Regions from separate parts of the Homo sapiens genome. Here region 1 is linked to region 2. The links are contacts of gene promoters, found by promoter capture Hi-C in blood cells and fetal thymus (Javierre and others, 2016). All regions are on one chromosome and are shown on one strand. Each heading gives the region's core, a stretch centred on a gene start or on the middle of the fragment in contact. The rest is flanking DNA. Distances are from core to core; before and after follow the strand shown.

Evidence for each region. Contacts are between HindIII fragments. The CHiCAGO score rates a contact against its expected background, and 5 or more counts as called.
Region 1: the fragment with the promoter of HNRNPD here is called in contact with the fragment with the promoter of CNOT6L in region 2 in 2 of 17 cell types (fetal thymus and non-activated CD4 T cells); the score reaches 13.0 in fetal thymus.

The regions. Positions count from the first base shown.
Region 1 is chr4:82,372,374-82,376,027 of GRCh38, forward strand. HNRNPD (heterogeneous nuclear ribonucleoprotein D) reads right to left here and starts at 1,618. Exons shown (of 9, transcript NM_031370.3): 1 at 1,073-1,618. The coding sequence starts at 1,305. HNRNPD-DT (HNRNPD divergent transcript) reads left to right here and starts at 2,195. Exons shown (of 2, transcript NR_183813.1): 1 at 2,195-2,292. RefSeq lists enhancers at 167-216, 1,577-1,746 and a silencer at 1,117-1,216. The HindIII fragment of the contact is 7,055 bases long and covers 1-2,744 here.
Region 2 is chr4:77,818,012-77,821,818 of GRCh38, forward strand. CNOT6L (CCR4-NOT transcription complex subunit 6 like) reads right to left here and starts at 1,357. Exons shown (of 12, transcript NM_144571.3): 1 at 1,293-1,357. The coding sequence starts at 1,297. RefSeq lists silencers at 654-1,053, 1,134-1,203, 1,694-1,793, 1,834-1,993, 2,254-2,403. The HindIII fragment of the contact is 6,822 bases long and covers 1-3,807 here.

The DNA.
Region 1 (3,654 bases), core at 368-2,867, 4.6 Mb after region 2:
TAATACTAAGAAATTTGCACCAAAAAGAAAAAAAAAGTATCCCATAGCACAATACAGGATTTGTTTCTCTTAAGAGGACTACAGGCCTCCCTTAGTGGGCGGGAAACAGATATCAAGACACCAAAATAGGATCCTGGGCACCGGGAAAAAAAGGGGGCTGGGGGTTGTAAAAAATTAGGTTGCACATAAAAAGTAAGGTACAATCTGTACTAACAGTTGGGGAACCCAATAGCTGAGGGCGCGAAAAGGGTGCGCGGTTAGAATAACTCAGTGGGGTGGGGGAAGGGTAGATGCTAGGCCGGAGATAGGAACAGCTCCAGTCAAGTGCAGGCCCGATCGACTAAGAACTTAACCAGAGCCCGCGGAGCAAAACCAATGTACCAACAAGAAACTCGGAGCATTTCACCAGACCCAATTTGGTCTGCATGTCAAAATGTAGGGCCTGTATGAGTATGCCATTGTGCGATAGCGTATGGTGGAGAAAATGAGTAAATCCTTAGGCGAAACTTATTCAAAATCCCAAGAAAACAGTCGGCCTAAGGCCGACAAGGGAGAGGCAGAGGTGGACAGCCTACGCGTTCCCCAAAACATGTGCTTATAAACAATCGCATCGTTTCAGGATGGTGGAGAAGCACCAAATAAACCTTAGTAATACAAACAGAGAAGCTGTTTGTGTCTGTGTTTTTATGCCCAAGACTGTAGAAAAAGGGAAAAAGAGGGGACAGCATGGAAAGAAAAAAGGTACCCCACGACAGGCGGGAAAAAATCCTGGCGGCTAAGTCGGTGGGAGGAGACCCATGGCGAGGGAGGAAAGGAGGGCGGGCCGAGGAGCAGCATGGTGACGGCTAAAGGTGGAAACGTGTGTGATGGGGGAGGGGGGCGATAAGCAGGCAAAGGAAGAAGGAAATGAAGGTCCGGGGAACCCAACATAGAAAAAGGGAGACCAGTGCAAGGAGGCTGCATGGGGGCCCGGAGAACGGGCTGAGAGCGGGAACCAGGCCTAATGGCGGGGGAATAAAGAGGGGGAGGGGGACTAGTTGGGCCTGACTATCCTGGGATGCCCCTTACTCACCCTTCATCCTCCTCGTTCTTACTGGCGTCAATCTTCGCCCCCTCCGACTCGGCGCTGCCCCCTTCGGTGCCTCCAGACGCGGTTCCGCCCCCGGTCCCGGCTCCGCTTCCCGCCGCCGCCGCTGCCCCCTGTGTCGCCGCCACCATGGCTCCCTCCTGCTCGCCCGCCGAGCCGCCTACCGCCGCCGTTGCCGCTGCCGCCGCCCCGTCCCCGCCGAACTGCTCCTCCGACATAGTGCTAGTGTCTCCGCCGCTGCCGCCGAGACTACACCCGCCGCTGCCGCGAACCGAAACTAGCAGCAAAGTAATCCCCGCCGCTGCCGCGCGCCCGCTCTACCTCGCGAAGCACACAAGACAGGGAAGGCGCGCGCGTGGCTGCAAAGGCTCCTGCGCCTCTCCCTGGCCTGCCCCCTTCGCCTCCCACTCTCGCGCGGCGCACACTCCCGCTCTCTCCCGCTGCACTAAAAAAGAATAAGCACCAGCGGCGGCCGCTCTCGCCTCCTCCTCGCTTTAATGGCGCCGCCGCGGACCACCTAAAATGGCCGACGGAAGAACGGCGCGTCCCGGTCACGTGACGCGAGAGCGCGCCCTTCGCGCGTCCCCCCACCCCTATCCCCCTAGTTTTTTTTTTTTCCCTTTCCTCCTCGGTCCCGCCCTCTCGCTACCCTTTATACCTTCCTCTCACGCTCCGCGTTGCACAGCCTTGGGGGCCTTTAAAAGGAACCGGAAGTGTCGTGAGCTAAGACAGTCGCGCGGGGACCATCGAGAACAAGGAGTGCTGTTTCGAAGTAGCGGCTAGAGGGGCCCCCTGCCTCCGCCCCCGCCCTTCCGAGGATTCCTGGAGTCCACTCACCCCTCCCCACCACTCCAGTAGCGGCGGGAGCAGCAGCGTTAGGCCGGGGTGTGGCTGCACCTCTGCGAAGGCTGTCGTGCCCCGTGCAGCTGCGGCGTTCGGGTGGGGGAGGGGAGGCTCACACCCTGCGGCGGCTTAAGCCTGGATTTACGCACTGGAGGAGGGAATTAGCCCTGAGATGTCAGCCCTGTGCCCCTGGCGCTGTCCACCCGGACGCCCGCGGAGCGCCAGGCGCCGCAGCGGACCGCGCGCGCACTGATTGCCGCAGCTACTCTCCCTGCCGTCGCCGCCCGGGACCGGGTGACATTGAGGTTTTCGTCTATCGCCGCTGGGCCGATAGGGCTTCTTTTTAAGATTTGGCTTTCCAAGTAAGATTTTTGTTTGCCTGCTTTTCTCCTGGAATTTTTTTGTTTTTGGTCGAAGAAGCAGGTAACTTGCATATCTTAAGGAAAACATTGTTTTTGCTTTGCTTTTGTTGTTTAAAGATCCTAAAACGTACCGTGATTCCTTTACGTTACTAATAATTGGAAAGTGTGTTAAATCAAGGGTTCGCTTAATGTTCTTTAGCCTTTGTACATAGAATATATAAATGTCGTGAGTCATCTTTACGAGGTTTATGAGTTTGTGTTCGGGTTTGGCTTTTTTGTTGTGTGTGCGTGGTTTTTTTTTTTCTTTTCTTGTAACACCGTTAGGCGTTTCATTAAGGTGTATAAAAAGTAATTTTATACACCTATTAAAAATTCCCGCTGCCTCGGCTGGAGACTGGATTATTCGGGCTTTGGGATTTGCTGCTTCCAGCAGTATCCTTAGAAGAAAATGAAGCTTCTAGGTACTTCTGTAGTCAACAAATAATTATTTGCCTGTTTAATTAAAGTGTTCGGGCACGGGGGAAACAAAGACGAGTTTGCAGACTCCAGCAAAAATCTTAAGAGTTTAAGTATTTGGGCCGGGCGCGGTGGCTCACGCCTGTAATCCCAGCACTTTGGGAGGCCGAGGCGGGCGGATCACGAGGTCAGGAGTTCGAGACAAGCCTGACCAACATGGTGAAACCCCCGTGTCTACTAAAAATACAAAAATTAGCCGGGCGTGGTGGCCGGTACCTGTAATCTCAGGTACTCAGGAGGCTGAGGCAGGAGAATCGCTTGAACCCGGGAGGTGGAGATTGCAGGGAGTCGAGATCATGCCACTTGCACTCCAGCCTGGGCGACAGAGCGAGACTCCGTCTCAAAAAAAAAAAAAAAAAAAAAGTTTAGGTATTTTCCACTGCAGTTAAACGAATTTGTATTAATTGGACACTATCCAAAAATCTCAAAGGAAGATTATAAGTAAGTTTTATTAATCAAGTTAGTAGAATTTACATTACAGAATAATTAAAACTCAAGAATACAGGTCAAATTCTGAAAACGTCCTAAAAATATAATCTTACCAAACTCCCGTAATAATCAAGTCACATAAAGGTAATACCAAGAATGTTTACCGTAAAGTGGTAGTGACTCCACATTTGTCTCCACCTGCCAGAATATTAGCAAAGGATAAAGTGGATATGGTGCTCAAACCATATATTCCGGGTTAGATACAACTAAGATGATTGACTGAAGGGAAGTCTGTTTAATCTTTTCTGGCTCAAGTGACGGTAATTGTCATTTATTTTGATCTTAAGATATCATTAGACATACCCACCTTTTGGTAATAGTGACTTTTCCAAAAGGTTCATTTTGATTTCACATGTA
Region 2 (3,807 bases), core at 107-2,606:
GGGTTTTGCTTAGGCTATTCTCAAAATAGCTTTCCAGCAGCACATACTGAGTAGACAACAGAGGTTGCTTGATCTAGTTTTTGGAGACTGAGGAAAACATGTTTGTTGAGCCTATCTTGATTGACAAGATAACTAGAGGCAATACGGTAAAATGTAACACTGTGCTTCCAATGTGTACAAACGGCTCAGCTAAACTCCCTGAACACAATCCACCTAAACAGTCTAAGCTCAATAGCCGACCGAGTTAAGCAGGATGACAGCTCCAGTAACTTCCTCTTCCTCACCCAGCTCCTCAGCTCGGCGGCGCGTACACGCCTCTCCCCCTAGGAGGCAGGATAAAACAATTTCAAATGCACAAAATCCATCCAATCCCACAGGCCAGGAAAGCCAGTTTCCCTTTCTTCCTCAGCCCTTCCAAGAAAATGTTTGTCTAATTAAAAAAAAAAAAATCTTACCAACGGCAAAGTATTTGCAACAAAAATCCAAAATATTTACTCAGTCCCTCCACACAGCCTTAGGGGAAGGATGAAAAGAAGGGAACACGACACCGCGTATTCCCAAGACTGACTGTTCTGATTCACTTTCCTCCCTCGGGTCCCACAGCCGGCCGGGCGAAGGCTTGCAGTTGGAACGCCAAAATAAGCCTTCGCCTCTCAGGAGACGCGGAGGCGGCCACGGCGACGGCAATCGGCGAGTCCCGCCTCCGACCCTCACCTGCCCAGGCCCGAGGCAGCGCCGTGGGCTCGCGCGGGCTCGCCGTCCCGGGAGGCGTCCGGGGAGGTGGGCGGGCGCCCAGGCAGTTAGGCCGCGCTGCAGGCCGGCGCGCTTCCTGCCGCGGCCGGGGAACGGCGGCCCCGGGATCAGCGGCGCGGCACCGACCAGCAGCTCTCCCAGCCCCGCTGCCGCGCGTGTGCCGCACTCACTCAGCCCTCCCCGGCCGGCCCCCTAGGAGCAGCTCTCACCTGCGAGGCTCGGGAGCCGCAGCCACAAAGCGGGAGGGACACGCCACTCTGGGGTCCCGGCCCCGGGCCACCCCCGACACACACACACACACACACACACACCCCGGAACCTTCGCCCGCCTCTGAAGAGACGCGGGTCAGCCCCGCCGCCCCCTCCAGTCACCCGACACACACCCACTCGCCGTGGGTCCTCGGGCCGCCTCCCCGCCCGCCAAAGTCCCAACTCGCACACCCACACGCACATTTGTCCCTCTCCCACCTCATTTCCCCGGGGACGCGCTCCTCTTCCCAACACTCTCGGTCCTACTCGGAGGCAAAAGAACACTCTACCTCATTCTCTTCCTCTGGCCCAGAAGCAACAGCAGCCATTTCCCCGCGGCAGGGGAAACACACACACAAACACGCGCGCGCGCGCGCACCAGGCCCCCACAGATGCTTCCCCTCCAGAGCCGCGGCCGCAGACGCAGACGCAAACACAAACACCCACGGCGGGCCTCGCTCCCGCCCGCCCCGAGGGGAAGCCGCGGCGGCACACAGGGCCCGTAACCGGGGCTCGCGGGCGGGCGCGCAGGGAACCCGGGCCCGGGGTCTCGGGGGGCCCGCGCCCCCTCCTCACCTGCATTCAGCGCGCCGGGGTCCGGGCGGCGGCGGCGGCGGCGGCGACGGGGCGGCTGGTGCTGGTGCTGCGGCGGCGGGGGAGGCGGCGGCGGCGGTGGCGGCGGGGCTGAGGGCAGCAAAGACATGCAGGCAGCCCGCCGGAGGGGAGAGGCACCGGCCGGAGGGGATGCGGGGCGGGCGGGCCGGGCCGGGCCGCCTGACGAACGGCAGAGGCGGCGGCGCGGAAGGCGGCTGAAGGGAGCGAGGAGACAGACCGGGGGTCGGGAAGGGGGACGAGGGCCGCGCCGCCGGGCTTCGAGGACAGTGACCCCAGGCGCGCAAGAGAGGCCCCGCGGCCGCGGCCGCCGGCGCGAAGGCCCCAGCCGAAGGAAGCTGCGCCCCCGCAGGGCCGGAGCCGCGGCTACTGCTCCGAGAGCCACGCAGAGCCTGGCCTTGGCCTTGGCCTCCTGGTGCTGGGGCTGCCGCCGCTGCGGGGGTTGCCGCTGCGCCGGGTGCTGCTGGGGCCGAGGTTGAACAGAGACGCCAGCTTTCGGTGCCTTCGCTCCCGCTCACACACGTTCACACCCCCGAGGGCCGGGGGAGAGGCGTCCGGGCGATATCGGTATTGAGATTAATAACAAGGTGCAGAGAGTGCGAGAACGAGGAGGGTTGATTGACGTGGAGGGGCTGGCGGGAGTCAGTCACTCCCCGGCGCGGAGGGTTGGGGTGAGGGGAAGGAGGCGGGGCGGTGACGGGGCGGAGCTCCTACGCAGCGCCTTGGCCCCGCCCCCCGTGCGCCGCGTTTTGTCGCGGTGAGCGCGCGGAGGCCCGGGCTTCTTAATGGTTTTCTGTTTTGCTCTGGCTGTTTTCTCACTCTTTTTTCCTGGCCTGAGCGAGGAGCGGGGCTGAGAAGAGTGGTAGAGTTTCAGAAACCCACATCCACAGAGCCTTGGCGAAGAGACGGGAAACCGCCTCACCCCGGGTTCTTGTGTGGGCGCTGTTTACTGCACCCTCCTCGCCCGAGGCGACCTGACAGCGAAGCAGAGCGTAGGTCTAGGTGGCTGAGACGCCAGGGGAGGTGAAGTGACCGAAGGAAATGTTTCCTGACATATTCGGTGGATTTTTTTTAAAAACATATAGCATCTGTAAGTTGTATCGTCAAAGGTAAATAAAAGAACCTGTGACGCTCAGCGATAACCCGGTCCTATTTTCTAATTCTCCCTTCTCGTTGTAGACTTTAGTTTGTTGTTTGTAGCTTATCCATGCCATCTACAGAATGAAAACATCCAAATGCAAACTAGAAATAGTAGTGTTTACTTGGTGAACCTGGCTGTGATACTTTAAGTTTCTGGGGTTTGTTTTTGTTTTTGTGGGCCAGCTTCAGCTTTTTTGGGCCAGCAGTCCAAAAAGCAAATTACACCGGCTGTGGAGGCAGAGTACTGCTGTTGCAGTTTTGCACAATTTTAATCTCTTTCTCAATGCATGCCCGGGCTCGTGTATTTACCAGTGTTGGTCAAGGGTATATTAGCAATGTTCAGTATTTTTTCCCCCACAGGAGTGTTTAGCACACTAAGCACGTTGCGTTGGTTGCAATTCATCTTAGGCCTTATTACTGAATGTAAAATGCCTTCATCTCTTGGGGGAAAAGGTGCGGTGAAAATGCAAATCATCATTTAGCTAAAACTGAACAGCTGTTACAAGAGTCCATAATTGCAGAACTATTGCACCACTTTCATCTTGGCACCAGGATGGGTGAATGAGTGAGTAAAAAAGCCCCTCAGTTCACAAGACGACAGACTATTTTCTTTTCTACCTATGTTAATTTTCCATTTCCCTCCCTAGCAACACCAGCCCCACACCATCTTCTGTGAAACATGTCAAAATGGCCTTAAGCCTGGAAGAAGTCTCACTCTTTCCCAACTATCTAAGAGTCTAGGCTGACATAAAATGAATAATTATCTTTGGCTTTGTAAGCAGCAAAGCCAAGCAAGTCACTTCAGGAGTCCAAATAGTGGACCTGCCTCAATGGCATCTTGCCACAGTATTTCTCCGTAGCACACAAACACTCTCCCAGGGAGAAATACCACCAATTATAGAAGGAAAGAGGAAAATAAATACCTGAAAAAATGTAAATCAGATAATGTGATAGCCTCACAGATTTAAGCATCTTTAAATAACAATAAATTTATATGAATTTTCTGTGAGTATTCAATGAATTTTCATTCATATACAATAAACACATATGGAG